Linked DNA regions of Homo sapiens: regions 2 and 3 are each linked to region 1. The links are contacts of gene promoters, found by promoter capture Hi-C in human tissues and cell types (Jung and others, 2019). All regions are on one chromosome and are shown on one strand. Each heading gives the region's core, a stretch centred on a gene start or on the middle of the fragment in contact. The rest is flanking DNA. Distances are from core to core; before and after follow the strand shown. Region 1 holds the start of TPBG (trophoblast glycoprotein). Region 2 overlaps UBE3D (ubiquitin protein ligase E3D). Region 3 overlaps DOP1A (DOP1 leucine zipper like protein A).

The links. The method cuts DNA at HindIII sites, captures the fragments that hold promoters and counts their contacts. A contact is called where the count stands out against the background at its distance.
Region 2: a fragment that was not itself captured here is called in contact with the fragment with the promoter of TPBG in region 1 in 3 of the 25 tissues and cell types used here (heart right ventricle, lymphoblastoid cells and neural progenitor cells).
Region 3: a contact is called between a fragment that was not itself captured here and the fragment with the promoter of TPBG in region 1, in 2 of the 25 tissues and cell types used here (IMR-90 fibroblasts and neural progenitor cells).

The regions. Positions count from the first base shown.
Region 1 is chr6:82,361,286-82,365,107 of GRCh38, reverse strand. TPBG (trophoblast glycoprotein) reads right to left here and starts at 1,291. Exons shown (of 2, transcript NM_001376922.1): 1 at 1,200-1,291; 2 at 1-485. The coding sequence starts at 146. It overlaps LOC105377875 (a long non-coding RNA gene), which reads left to right and starts at 1,451. Exons shown (of 3, transcript XR_942738.4): 1 at 1,451-1,496. RefSeq lists enhancers at 1-681, 833-1,344, 1,345-1,858. The HindIII fragment of the contact is 6,837 bases long and covers 287-3,822 here.
Region 2 is chr6:83,041,504-83,045,589 of GRCh38, reverse strand. It overlaps UBE3D (ubiquitin protein ligase E3D), which reads left to right. Exons shown (of 10, transcript NM_198920.3): 4 at 931-1,162. Among named protein-coding and RNA genes, the nearest start is that of UBE3D, 22 kb to the left of the region's middle. The HindIII fragment of the contact is 9,560 bases long and covers 1-4,086 here.
Region 3 is chr6:83,082,624-83,086,536 of GRCh38, reverse strand. All of the region lies in intron 1 of DOP1A (DOP1 leucine zipper like protein A), which reads right to left. Among named protein-coding and RNA genes, the nearest start is that of DOP1A, 17 kb to the right of the region's middle. The HindIII fragment of the contact is 4,029 bases long and covers 1-3,782 here.

The DNA.
Region 1 (3,822 bases), core at 42-2,541:
GCCAGGAACGGCGCCGAGGAGGAGAAGGAGGATGCCGAGGAGGTGGGAGAAGACGAGGAGACCCAGCCCAGGAGTACCAGCGCTAGTCGCGCCAGCCGCAGACGCCCGTCCCCGGCGGCGGGGCCCCGGGAGCACCCCCCAGGCATCGCGGCTCGCGTTTCCCCGGAGCTGGGCTGGGACGGCGCCCGCTCCGAAGGCTCGGGAGGCTGGGCCCGGAGGGCGCGAGCCGGCGGAAGCGTCTGGAAAAAAAAAACTTTCCTCTCGTGGAACCGAGGGAGTGGCGCCGCAGCCGGAACTTGGCTAACCCCCTCGCCACCGGGCGCTTCCCTCAGGGGCCGATTCCCCCGCCCCTTCCCTCCAGAAAGTACGCACGGCGGGTCGGGACGCTCCGCTCCGCGCTCCTGCTCCCGCTCCTCTTCCTGCCGCCGCCCTGGTGCCACCTCTTCGCCTCTTGTTGGCGCCCCTCGCTGGATCCTCTGAGGGACCTGGGACAAGCAGGAGAGAGGCGTGAACAGCGGTGGCTGCCGCGGCTTCCGGAGTGCAAAAACCGGCCTTTTCGAGTCTAGTCGTCTCCAGTCTGTCCCAGAGACCTCCTTCCAAAAGCCCGCCCCGGCCTCGCCTCCCCAACCCCTCCGGTCACTTTTACTCCGGAGGGGGACGCGCATCCGACACCCAGACCGCAAAGTCTTCCTTCTTCCCTGGCCCACACTAAATAAACCCGACCGGCCTCCCGCCCTCCGCCTTTCCCGAGGAGACTCGTCTCCCGCGTCTAACTTACCGCTTAATCCCCAATTCCTTCCCTACCAAACTTCTCCCTCTCCCGTTCCTTCCTGCACCGCCTCGGCGGAAGGTCGGCCTCCGGGTGTCTCCGCCCCCGCCCAGACCTCTCCACCAGGTCCCGGTTAGGATGCGAGGGAAGTTTCAGGTTACAGGACTTTTTGATCTCTTTTTGTACCTTCTCGCATTAGCAGGAAGTGGAGCTACAACTGTCGCCCCCCAGCCCGCGCCCCGCCAGCCCCTCGGATCTCAAAGGGGTTCAAGTCATCTCCAAAGAGGAGGGGAGAGTCTGGGAACAAAGCAGCAGTGGGACTCGGGGTACAGTGGCAACCCGAACCAACCCTACTCTCCACCCGAGGATGGGGAGGGGCCCCAACGACGCCTCCCGGGTCTCTCCCAGGCCGCGGGCTCCCACTGCTCACCTCCGCGTCCGCCGCCTCCAGAACCAACTCTGAGTTCCACCAGAGTAGCGACGACTTCCCGGCTCCGCGTTGCGGGCGCCGACTCTCTTCGCACCCCAGCCCCTGGCCCAACCTCCCAACCTCCGCAGCTGGGAAAAACCAACCCGGGGGGCGGGGGAGGGCCAGGACTGTCGGGGAGATTCCCGACGCGCGGCCAACCTCGGCAGCCGTAGGTAGGGGGATTTAAGAAGAGAGACTAGGGGAGCTGGGCTGCGCGCCTCCTCCTGGTGGAAATTAACGAGGAATGTGCCGGAAAAGGTGAGGGAATCCCTTTCTCTCCCCCCTCCCCGACATCCTTGGGTGGTTCCTCATTTTGCATACTGTATTTACCTTGGACTGGAGCAAAACCGCTGGTGAATCTCGTGGAATTCACCCTGATTCAGGCACCTTTGGCAGTGACGAGATAGATTTAGGCATGACAGAGCAGCGCGAAGCAGCAGCAGAAAGAAATGAGCTGAAAATCTACTGCGGCAGCAGCAAAGGCACGGCAGGTTGTATGGAAGCTTCAGAAGCTCTCCCCATCAAAGTGGTACTTGAGGCCGCAAACTTCAGATTTAGGTGTAATTAATGCCTTCCCGCCTGTCCCCCCCGCCCCCTCACTTCTTGGGTAGTGATGGAACTTGTGAAGAGAGCGCGCCAACTTTAAGAGAGAGAGAGAGAGAAAGAAAAAAAAAAGATTAGTGGAGAGGAGATTCATTCCTGATTCATTAGCTTTTCTCTTACCAAAATTAAAAGCAGATGGAAGAGAAAGGCAGCCAAAGGCATCCCAGAAACAAAAGGCAAATAGCAAAGACTTGAGTCTCCCGGAAAGCGGACCCGCCCCCCTCCCCAGATGTAGCGCGGTGTGTCAAGTCACTTCTGTGGAGAAAGCTCCAAGGATGAGGAGTGGGGATTGCAGGAGCTGACCTGGGAGAGAAGTTTGGTTTCAAAGTCGATTGTCCCAGGGGGCATCTGGCAGATGGTGATGGAGAGGATGGGGTTGGGGAGAGGGACAAATTGAATGGTTGGTTACCGGAAGGATCTGTTATTATACCAGACAGGTTTTGGGTTCTGAAAGCCCTATCGTTGCTCTCTGTAACTCCACATCCCCTTTGTCCCAATTAAATAATTTCCCCGAAGGGATAAGAAGGTTCTTCCAGGCTTCTTCATTTTAGAGAGAAAATGGCAATTAGGGAAAACATGGTTCGGAAATTTAAGACCTGGTCGTATTAAAAAAGATCAAATAAGGATCCTGAGGCTTGTGCCTGGGACATGTGCCTTTAGTGTGAAGAAAGACCCCAACTCTCCAACGGACGCCTGATTACTTTTATAGAAAGAGATAGTCTGCAAAGCCGACAGCAAAAATGGCTCAGACAAAAGCTGAAAACACTGGAAACTGCAGAGATTTGTGCACAAAAGCTGGTTTCATTAATTTGCATCTTCAGCACGTTTATCTACATCTCTTTTCTTATTTTTAAAAGTGTTTTGCAACATGAATGTAAAACACTTTGAAAAAGAATCTCTAAAGCTGTAGTCATGTTCTGTATCCGGATTGTGGTGGTGGTTACATAAACCTATACAACGTGTTATAACTCATAGAACTTTGTAAACCAAAAGAGTCAATTTTACTGTATGATAAGTTTAAAAATAAAATTAATTACTCATTGGAAAAAACCTGTAATAATGCTCTGGCATGGTATTAACTCTGGTCCTGATCTGAAGACCAACTGCTTTGTTAGGAGAGTGAGATACACTTTAGAATTTAGAAACATAATATATATACTCATCTGATTTTCAAGACAACTCAGAGGCAAGATAAATATTGTTAGTATTATTGCTTGTTGCTATTATTGTTGTTGTTCTGTTGTACAAATGAAAAAACTGGGGCTTTAAGTTAGCTTGACTGAGTGTCTTCCACTTGCCAAGCACTGTGCTGATCACAGATATTATCTCATTGACTCTTCACTTCGGTACTCAAGTTAGGTCCTCTCACTCCAGTTTTACAGACAAGAAAATTGACGCAAAAATAAATTACATAACTTGTTCAAATGAGTGATGGAGGTGGGAACCAGGCCCAGATTTGCCTGCCTCCCATATAGTACATCCCACATTCTGCCTCTAGGCAAGATTAAGGAGTTTGTGCAAAGTTCTACTCTGTTCCACTTAGGCAGAACGTAAACCTCACCTCTTGTTCCCTTTTTACTTCTTCTGCCTCCACCTTCCTGCAGCTGGCAATTGCTTATGGCTGCTGAATAGGGACCCAGAAATTTAGGGTCATTTCTAGCTCTGACACTTGCCTGCTGTGTGTCTTCTATAATAGGACCACTAATGAAATTTGAAGATATTTCCATGAAAATTGAGATAAATATGTCACATACTTAGCAAAATCATCTGTTTTGATAGTTCTCTCCTAAATTACCCCCCTCATGTTATTTATTGTAATCCACTATATCTCTGTAACTATGTTAGTAATAGGAATACAAGGATAAATAATTTAAAGTCTCTTTAAGGTAGAGTTGCCAGATTTAACAAATCTGGCAAAACAATGAATACCTTTTAATGAACAAAACAATGAATACCTTTTAAGTGTGTCCCATGCAATATT
Region 2 (4,086 bases), core at 261-2,760, 680 kb before region 1:
TAAGACACGTAAACCAAAATAAAAGGCAGTAACACCAAAAAAATTTGTAACAGATTAATAAGCATGAGGCTAATACTCTTAATATAGAACACATTTTTACAAATTAATAAGAACATAATAATACCACCCTGGAAAATAGTCACTAATCACAATTCACAGAAGAAACACAGTAGACTATAAGTAGCAAAACTAGATGAATCTCACCAGTAATTTAAGAGTTGCCAGTTAAAGCAGCATTGAAAATACTTTTACCTATTACTAATGCAGAAATGGAAAAATGATAGTATTCATTTATGAAAAGGGTGAGTGGAAGAATTATAGATTGGCACAGCCTTTCTGAAAAGAAATTCACCAAATAGGTGTTGGGTTTTAAAATATGCATATAGTTTGTGCTTATCATCTCACACTTATATAGGATTCTTTCCAAGGAAAATAGATATGTTCATAAATATTCTAACAGGAACATTCATCACAGAGTTATTGATAATGAAAAACTCAAAACCTAAATATCTAACAGTTGAGGGAATCATCTCAAAAGTTTTGATGTACTTATGGAATAGAATATTGTGGACTAATTAGGATTCATCTAAATAAAACAACAAAAGCAAGATATAGTATGTTTATTCACGATTCTCAAACTTCGTGTGATATGTACAGATATATCTTTTGAACGGATGGCAAAGAAATACACTGTCATGTTTAGTTACTTATCTCTGGGTAGTGAGATAAAGGATGATTTTTCCTTGTTTATACCTCCTTGCATTTTCAAAATTAGCTGTAGTGAGTATATATTACTTTTATAATTGGGGAAAAAATTAGCATTGCAAACCTTGTGGTTAATGAGTTTCTTTCATCTTTTATGGTCATTTAATTAAGAAAATGTTAGTATCATTTTGTTCTGTGAAAAATGATTTTTCCTCTTTCCACTAGGAAGCTCCTCAGGGTGCTCCCACTGCCGAGTGAGAACTGGGGAGCTCTAGTTGGAGAATGGTGTTGTCATCCTGACCCCTTTGCTAATAAATCACTTCATCCGCAAGAGAATGACTGTTTTATTGGAGACTCTTTCTTCTTGGTGAATTTAAGAACCAGTTTGTGGCAGCAAAGACCTGAACTATCCCCAGTGGAGATGTGCTGTGTTTCTTCTGACAACCATTGTAAATTGGTAAAATATCATTTCAAAATAAATGGTAATTTAGAGGCTGTCTTAGATACTGACTTCTTCAATCTTTTCCTAATTAAGGGCTTGTTACATAGACTGCTGTAAAGGCCAAAATTCATTATTTTCAACTGTCATCGCTATCGTTGCTTTATCAAAACAGGAAGAGCATATGGCTTTAAACTAAAACAGCCACAGGCGCCTGGAAGAATAAGGAGAGGAAGACCTCTGCAGGCTTAGAATTGCGAGTGCTACCATTTTACAAACAAAATGTCTTGCTTTCTTGTTCTTAGGACAATATTGCATAATTTGTGTGCATTTTATCCTAAATAGTCTGATTTAGGTTAAAAGTGTTGTCTTGCTCCAGGATATCTACTATACTATTAGGCTGAGGTATTTTACTATTTCTGCCCATAGTCTAGACTTCTGCTGAAGTCATAAATGGAGATGTCATCAAGTAAAAAGAGGAATGGAGGAGCCCAGGAATGGAGATAAAGCTTGTGTTTCAGGGTCTGAGTTGGTGCTTGACAGTGTGAGGTCAGGTGGCTCTTGCTGCATAAGTTGCTTTGGGAAGAAGGCAATTTTCTCTCACTGCAGAGAACAAGTGTTTTACTTTATTTTAAAAGAAAATCAATGGCATTGGCTTGGCCCATGTGAGAAAGCATTCCACTGATGGCCAGTCAATACAGATATTATTTAAAAAGTAAAATCATTCCCAGAGAATCATTTTAACATCTGATTATTGGTGGGAACTAAAACATTGTATTTTAAATTTCATTCAGAACTCATTTAATTTTTGTAATAATAACTGAGCGACTGCAGGAAATATGCAGTAGGTGGGCAGCTCTTAGGTTGTAAATTAGTTTATAGAACTATTCTGAGGGAGATGAAGGAAATTCGTCAAATGTGGAGGTTAAGTTGTTGTCAGATAAAGTTATTTAAGTGCCTCATTTTACACTGTAAACAGAAATCCCTTTATCTAAATATGGTTCACTTTGGTGAAATGTAGTACTTTACATTTTATATTTTAAAAGGTAAATAGTAAGTTAATATATATTTGTTATATTTAATATGATTAATTAAATTTGTATTTTAATCTAAATATATACTAATACTTTATATGTGTTTTAAATTTCATCTTTATGATTAAGCTATACATTTCAAAAACATTTGGAAGTTGTGAGCAGAAAAGTAGTAGAGAAAGATTGAATCAGAGAAACCATGTTTCCCTTTTTAAATAAACTCAGCACTCTGTGCTGAAATATATTCATCACATTTACATCTTTATCAGTTATGTGATGCCATTTACAAGAATTTCTCTTCATAGTAAACAGCTATCTTATCCATTAAAGAAAGACCCATCATATTTTTAGACATTACAGTTTTAGTATCAAGGAGACTGTGGGAAATTCTGTACTATCAAGACAAGATGCTGTTGAAAAGATTTTCTTCAAGTTAGCCTAGATGAAAGTCCCTCTTTAATTGTATATTGTAGCAGTCCAAAGAGTGTGCCTGTGACCAAAATAGAAACATAAATTTGGAGGGACTGCGTAAACAGCGCTCTCAAGGCTCCTGTGGGAACAAGGCTGTTCTGTGCTATTGAAAACCTATTTCTCCTATCACCCAGTCTAGCCATCTAGCAGGGTTTTGAAATGTCACATAGTAACAAAGCATCCTAATGGTATCTCTTGGGAAACATTTTTTTGATGAGACAATATCAAGGGTCCTTAGAAATTGAAACGACACAAAGGGAAAATAAAAGGGAGGACACGAGGCTAATCCACCTCTCTGAGCAGCCCTGTGGTGTCTCAGATATATTGACTTAATTAGTGCACAACAATGTCTGTCTTTGAGGTTTGCTCTGTAGAGTTCCCACACTGTTAGGCTGCTTCATTACACAACTTGCCTTATTATTTCCTTGAAGGATAGGTGAAGAAAAATGCATTACAAAGCAGAGATTCTCTTTAAATGAAATTTATGTGCTATAATATGTTTAATTAAAAAGATCTGCTTTTAAAAACAGCACAAACAAACATGAAGCCCAACACTTTCTTTTCTTCCATAGCCTTTTAGAGTTTATAATACTTTATTGGAGGCTTTGTTATTGCAGCAGTATCTACTTATTTTTAAAAGATACCTGCTGAAGATTTCCCTATTGGTGTATTCATTTATCACCTCTCTTGTGCTATTTTGTGCCTGCCCACATAATACAAATTTTGCATCTTGGGCCGGGCGCAGTGGCTCATGCCTGTAATCCCAGCACTTTGGGAGGTTGAGGCGGGTGGATCATGAGGTCAGGAGATTGAGACCATCCTGGCCAACATGGTGAAACCCTGTCTCTCCTAAACTACAAAAAATTAGCCGGGTGTGGTGGCGGGGGCCTGTAGTCCCAGCTACTCAGGAGGCTGAGGCAGGAGAATCGTTTGAACCTGGGAGGCAGAGGTTGCAGTGAGCCAAGATTGCACCACTGCACTCCAGCCTGGTGACAGAGCGAGACACTGTCTAAAAAAAAAAATTATATAATAGACGATAAGGATGGCATTTCATCCTTTTATAAGAGTCAAAATATTATTCAAGGCTTCACTCTTTTTTAAAGAGCAAATAAAATTGATCTTTGATTACATTAATATTACTGCTAGCAAGGATGACTAACATCTTTACCTTTTTTTCTTTCTTGGAGTACTTAGTAATTATTAGTTGCTTTTGGTAATTTGTTTTGTTAAATCCATAAGTGTGTCTTTTTTGTTTTCTTAGAAAAATGTGTTGTCAAACTCTGTAAGTATTCACAAGTATAAGAAGAATAGTATTGTGAATTTCAATATGGATTCATTAAGTATGCTTCATCTGCTCTTTTTTTCCTGAAATGCTTAAAACAGTCTTGTCATTTTATCCCTACATCTAAAAATAGGAATTTAAAAAATGTAGCCACA
Region 3 (3,913 bases), core at 519-3,018, 720 kb before region 1:
GAGGTACAGCTGAGTCTTGAAAAACATGCAATTTGAGTTGCATGGGTCCGTTTCTTCGTGGATTTTCTTCCACTTCTACTACCTACCCAAGACAGCAAGACCAACCTCTCTTCTTTCTCCTCCTCTTCCTCTGCCCACTCACAGTGAAGACAATGAGGTTCATGAAGATCTTTGTGATGATCCACTTCCACTTAATGAACAGTACATATATTTTCTCTTATGGTTTTCTTACTATTTTCTTTTCTCTAGCTTATTTCATTATAAGAATACAGCATATTATACATATAACCTACAAATGTGTTAATCAACCATTTATGTTACCAGTAAGGCTTCCAGTCTATAGTAGGCTATTAGTAAAGTTTTTGGGGAGTCAAAAATTATACGTGGATTTTCGATTCATGGGTCAGCCTTACTTCAAGGTTCAATCAGGAACCCTCCTCTCTTCTTTCCCTTTAGGTTATCTCCTATAGTCCTATAGCTCCAATAGCATCTGTTAACTGATGTGTCCTAAATCTATACCTGCCACTTTTCCTCTTCTATTATTCTAACCAGTTATAGCCCACTCCAGCACACCACTGATTCCTGCTTCTATTCTTGAGAGTCTGCATAATTCATCCTCCACAGAGAAGCCAGAGACACATTATGTCATTCCTTTGCCTAAAACCTGTCAATGGCGATAGAGCGAGACTCTGTCTCAAAATAACATAACATAACATAACATAACATAACATAACATAACATAACATAACATAACATAAAATACCGCAAAAAACCCATCAATGGTTTTCCTCAAAGCTTGTCCTGGTCACCTTCTAGTCTTAATTATTCTCTAAGGATAAGACCTCTTCTGATACAGCAGAAACAGCAACATCTTAGCTATACCCTAAATACAAATATTCCAATACAAAGCTTAGAATAATATCCAAACTCAAATACACCAATTTTTTTTGCATTCTAGGCATTTTGTTCTTGCTATTCTCTACATTTAAAATCTCTTTGGTCAACTCTATGTGACAGATTTCTTCCCGTCCTCCAGTAATATCAAACCCTACCAAAAGTTCTTTCTGATCAGTCTAAGTAGCCTGCCTGGGGCCAAACTCTTACCACATACCCTATAACATCACATTATTTCCTTATTAGCATTTGTTACACTTTGAAATTTTCCTATTTATTTGCTTGTTTCCTGTCTATCATCTCTCAATGGGATGCAAATACTATGAAGTCAATAGCCTTATCTTAGTTGTTCATACCTGCATCGGCAGTCCCATAATAGTGGCTGATAAACAGTAGGGCCTCAAATATAATCTGAATAAATGAACTAATCTATCAACGACAATATAGTTAAACCATTTTCGTTTGTTTTTTCTGAGAAAAGCTTTGTAGAAGAAAAATAAAAAGCAGAACTACAGTTCTATTTCTTAACTAGTATAGTCACACTTGACCTTACTCTCCTCAAATACAGAATACATTCACATGGCTATTAAGTGCTTTAAAAAACAGATTGCCTAAGAACATTTATAAAAATGTGTACATTCCAGTTACACTTTTAAAAAACTGGCTCAGTTTAATCTGTATTAAACATAACTATCTAAATGTGAAGGAAGTCATTCCAGCCCTGTGAAAGGAGATTTAAAAAATCCTATTTAGGCTGGGTGCAGTGGCTCATGCTTGTAATCCCAGCACTTTGGGAGGCCAAGGCAGGCAGATCACTTGAGGCCAGGAGTTCGAGACCAGCCTGGCCAACATGGTGAAACCATCTCTACTAAAAAAAAAAAAAAATACAAAAATTAGCCAGGTGTGGTGGTGCGTGCCTGTAATCCCAGCCTCTTGGGTGGCTGAGGCACAAGAATCGCTTGAACCCAGGAGGTAGAGGCTGCAGTGAGCCAAAATGGTGCCACTGTACTCCAGCCTGGGCTACAAAGCAAGACTCTGTCTCAAAAAAAACAAAACAAAACAAAAAAAACAAACTACTTAGGTATGATACTCCCAGACGTCGAAGTCAAATCTTTTCAAATTAATTAGCTGCAAATCTCAAGCTGGAGAAAAATTTGGAAAAAGTTTTATTATACTTTATGTACTTATTTATAGTCATGCATTGCTTGATGGGAATATGTTCTGAGATGTGTTGTTGGGTGATTTAGTTATTGTGTGAACATTCATAGAACATGCTTAAACAGACATAATGGTAAACCCTACTACACATCCTGGCTATATGGTATAACCTATTGCTCCTAGGCTGCAAACCTGTACAGCATGTTATATATTGAATACTGTAGGTAACTGTAACACAACAGTAAGTATTTGTGTACCTAAAAATAGAAAAGTACAGTAAAATACAGTATTAAAACCTTACGGGACCACTGTTACATAGGTGGGCCATCATTGAAATGTTATACAGCATATGACTATTTATATTTTCACTTTAGGTCTCAGAAAAGCTATACGAATAAAAACCTAAGACACAAGAGGTTTAAAAGCCCATAGATCTGCCAAGGTGACAGTGAAGCTGATTTAACTTTACGATTTCTTTTTTTACCAAGTAAATATACACAAAATTATATACGTTATTAAAAATTGTCTCTGAATGCTATAAAATCAGATTCTTTCTCATTTCAAATTCTGTGATTTCTGGTACACATAGCAATATGAAAATATTAATTTTAGAAAATACAAAACATAAGCACCATTTATAACTTGGAATGAGCCATTAGCAGGTAGGTGGGATTCTACTTTAAGCTTCAAATGGCAAACAGCCATAATAATAAACACTTAAGCACATACCCTTGAGTTACAAAGGATCATCCTGTCTCCAAAGCATAGTAGCCAAATAAACATTGTCCACGTATTACTCAAGATGATGATAATAATCACAGTTGATACTGACTTACAAATTACTCTGTGCCAGGCACTATACTAAGCCCTTTCATGTGAATTATCTCATGTATCTTCACAATACATCCATGAGGTAGATATACACATGAATCCATGTTCATATAAGGCAATTAGTGTTCAAGGTGCCACAGAGAATAAAAGGAAGAACCAGGAAGAACTCTGGCAGACTGACTCCTGGAATTGGCCCTTAATCAGTATCTTTCTGAACTTTTTTTTTTTTTTTTAAACCACAAGTCTTAATTCTCCTGCATGACATATTCTACCTCTCCTCTCTCATTAACTTTTTTCAAAAAACTTTTCCGGCTATATAGATTTCTTTCTTAGAAATTGTACTTAAAAAAAAACTATAATAATGTAAATACATATGTTATTCTTCCTAGACCTTGAATGAAGCACAGGGACCAAAGCTCAACTCAAAATACCCCAAGTGGTTCACCACTCAATACTGATAGTGTTTAAAATATAAGGCAAAAATGATCATGATTCTGATACAGAAGTTTTTATTTTTGGTTGTTATCTATAAAAGAGTGGGTTTTTGGCCAGGCATGGTGGCTCATGCCTGTAATCCCAGCACTTCAGGAGGCTGAGGCGGGTGGATCACCTGAGGTCAGGAGTTTGAGACCAGCCTGGCCAACATGGTGAAATCCCATCTCTAATAAAAATACAAAAATTAGCTGGGCGTGGTGGCAGGCACCTGTAATCCCAGCTACTTGGGAGGCTGAGGCAGAAGAATTGCTTGAACCCAGGAGGCAGAGGGTGCAGTGAGTGGAGACCGCACCACTGCACTCCAGCCTGGGTGACAGAGCAAAACTCGGTCTCAAAAAAAAAAAAAAAGTGGGTTTAAAAAAGAGACATGTAGCTTATTTCAAATTGACAGATAAAATTGTATTATGTACAATATAATGTTTTGAAGTATATACACACTGTGTAATGGTTAAATGTAGCTAATTAACAAATGCATTGCCTCAAATAGTTGTCATTTTTGTGGTAAGAACACTTACTACTCTTTGTATTTTTCAAG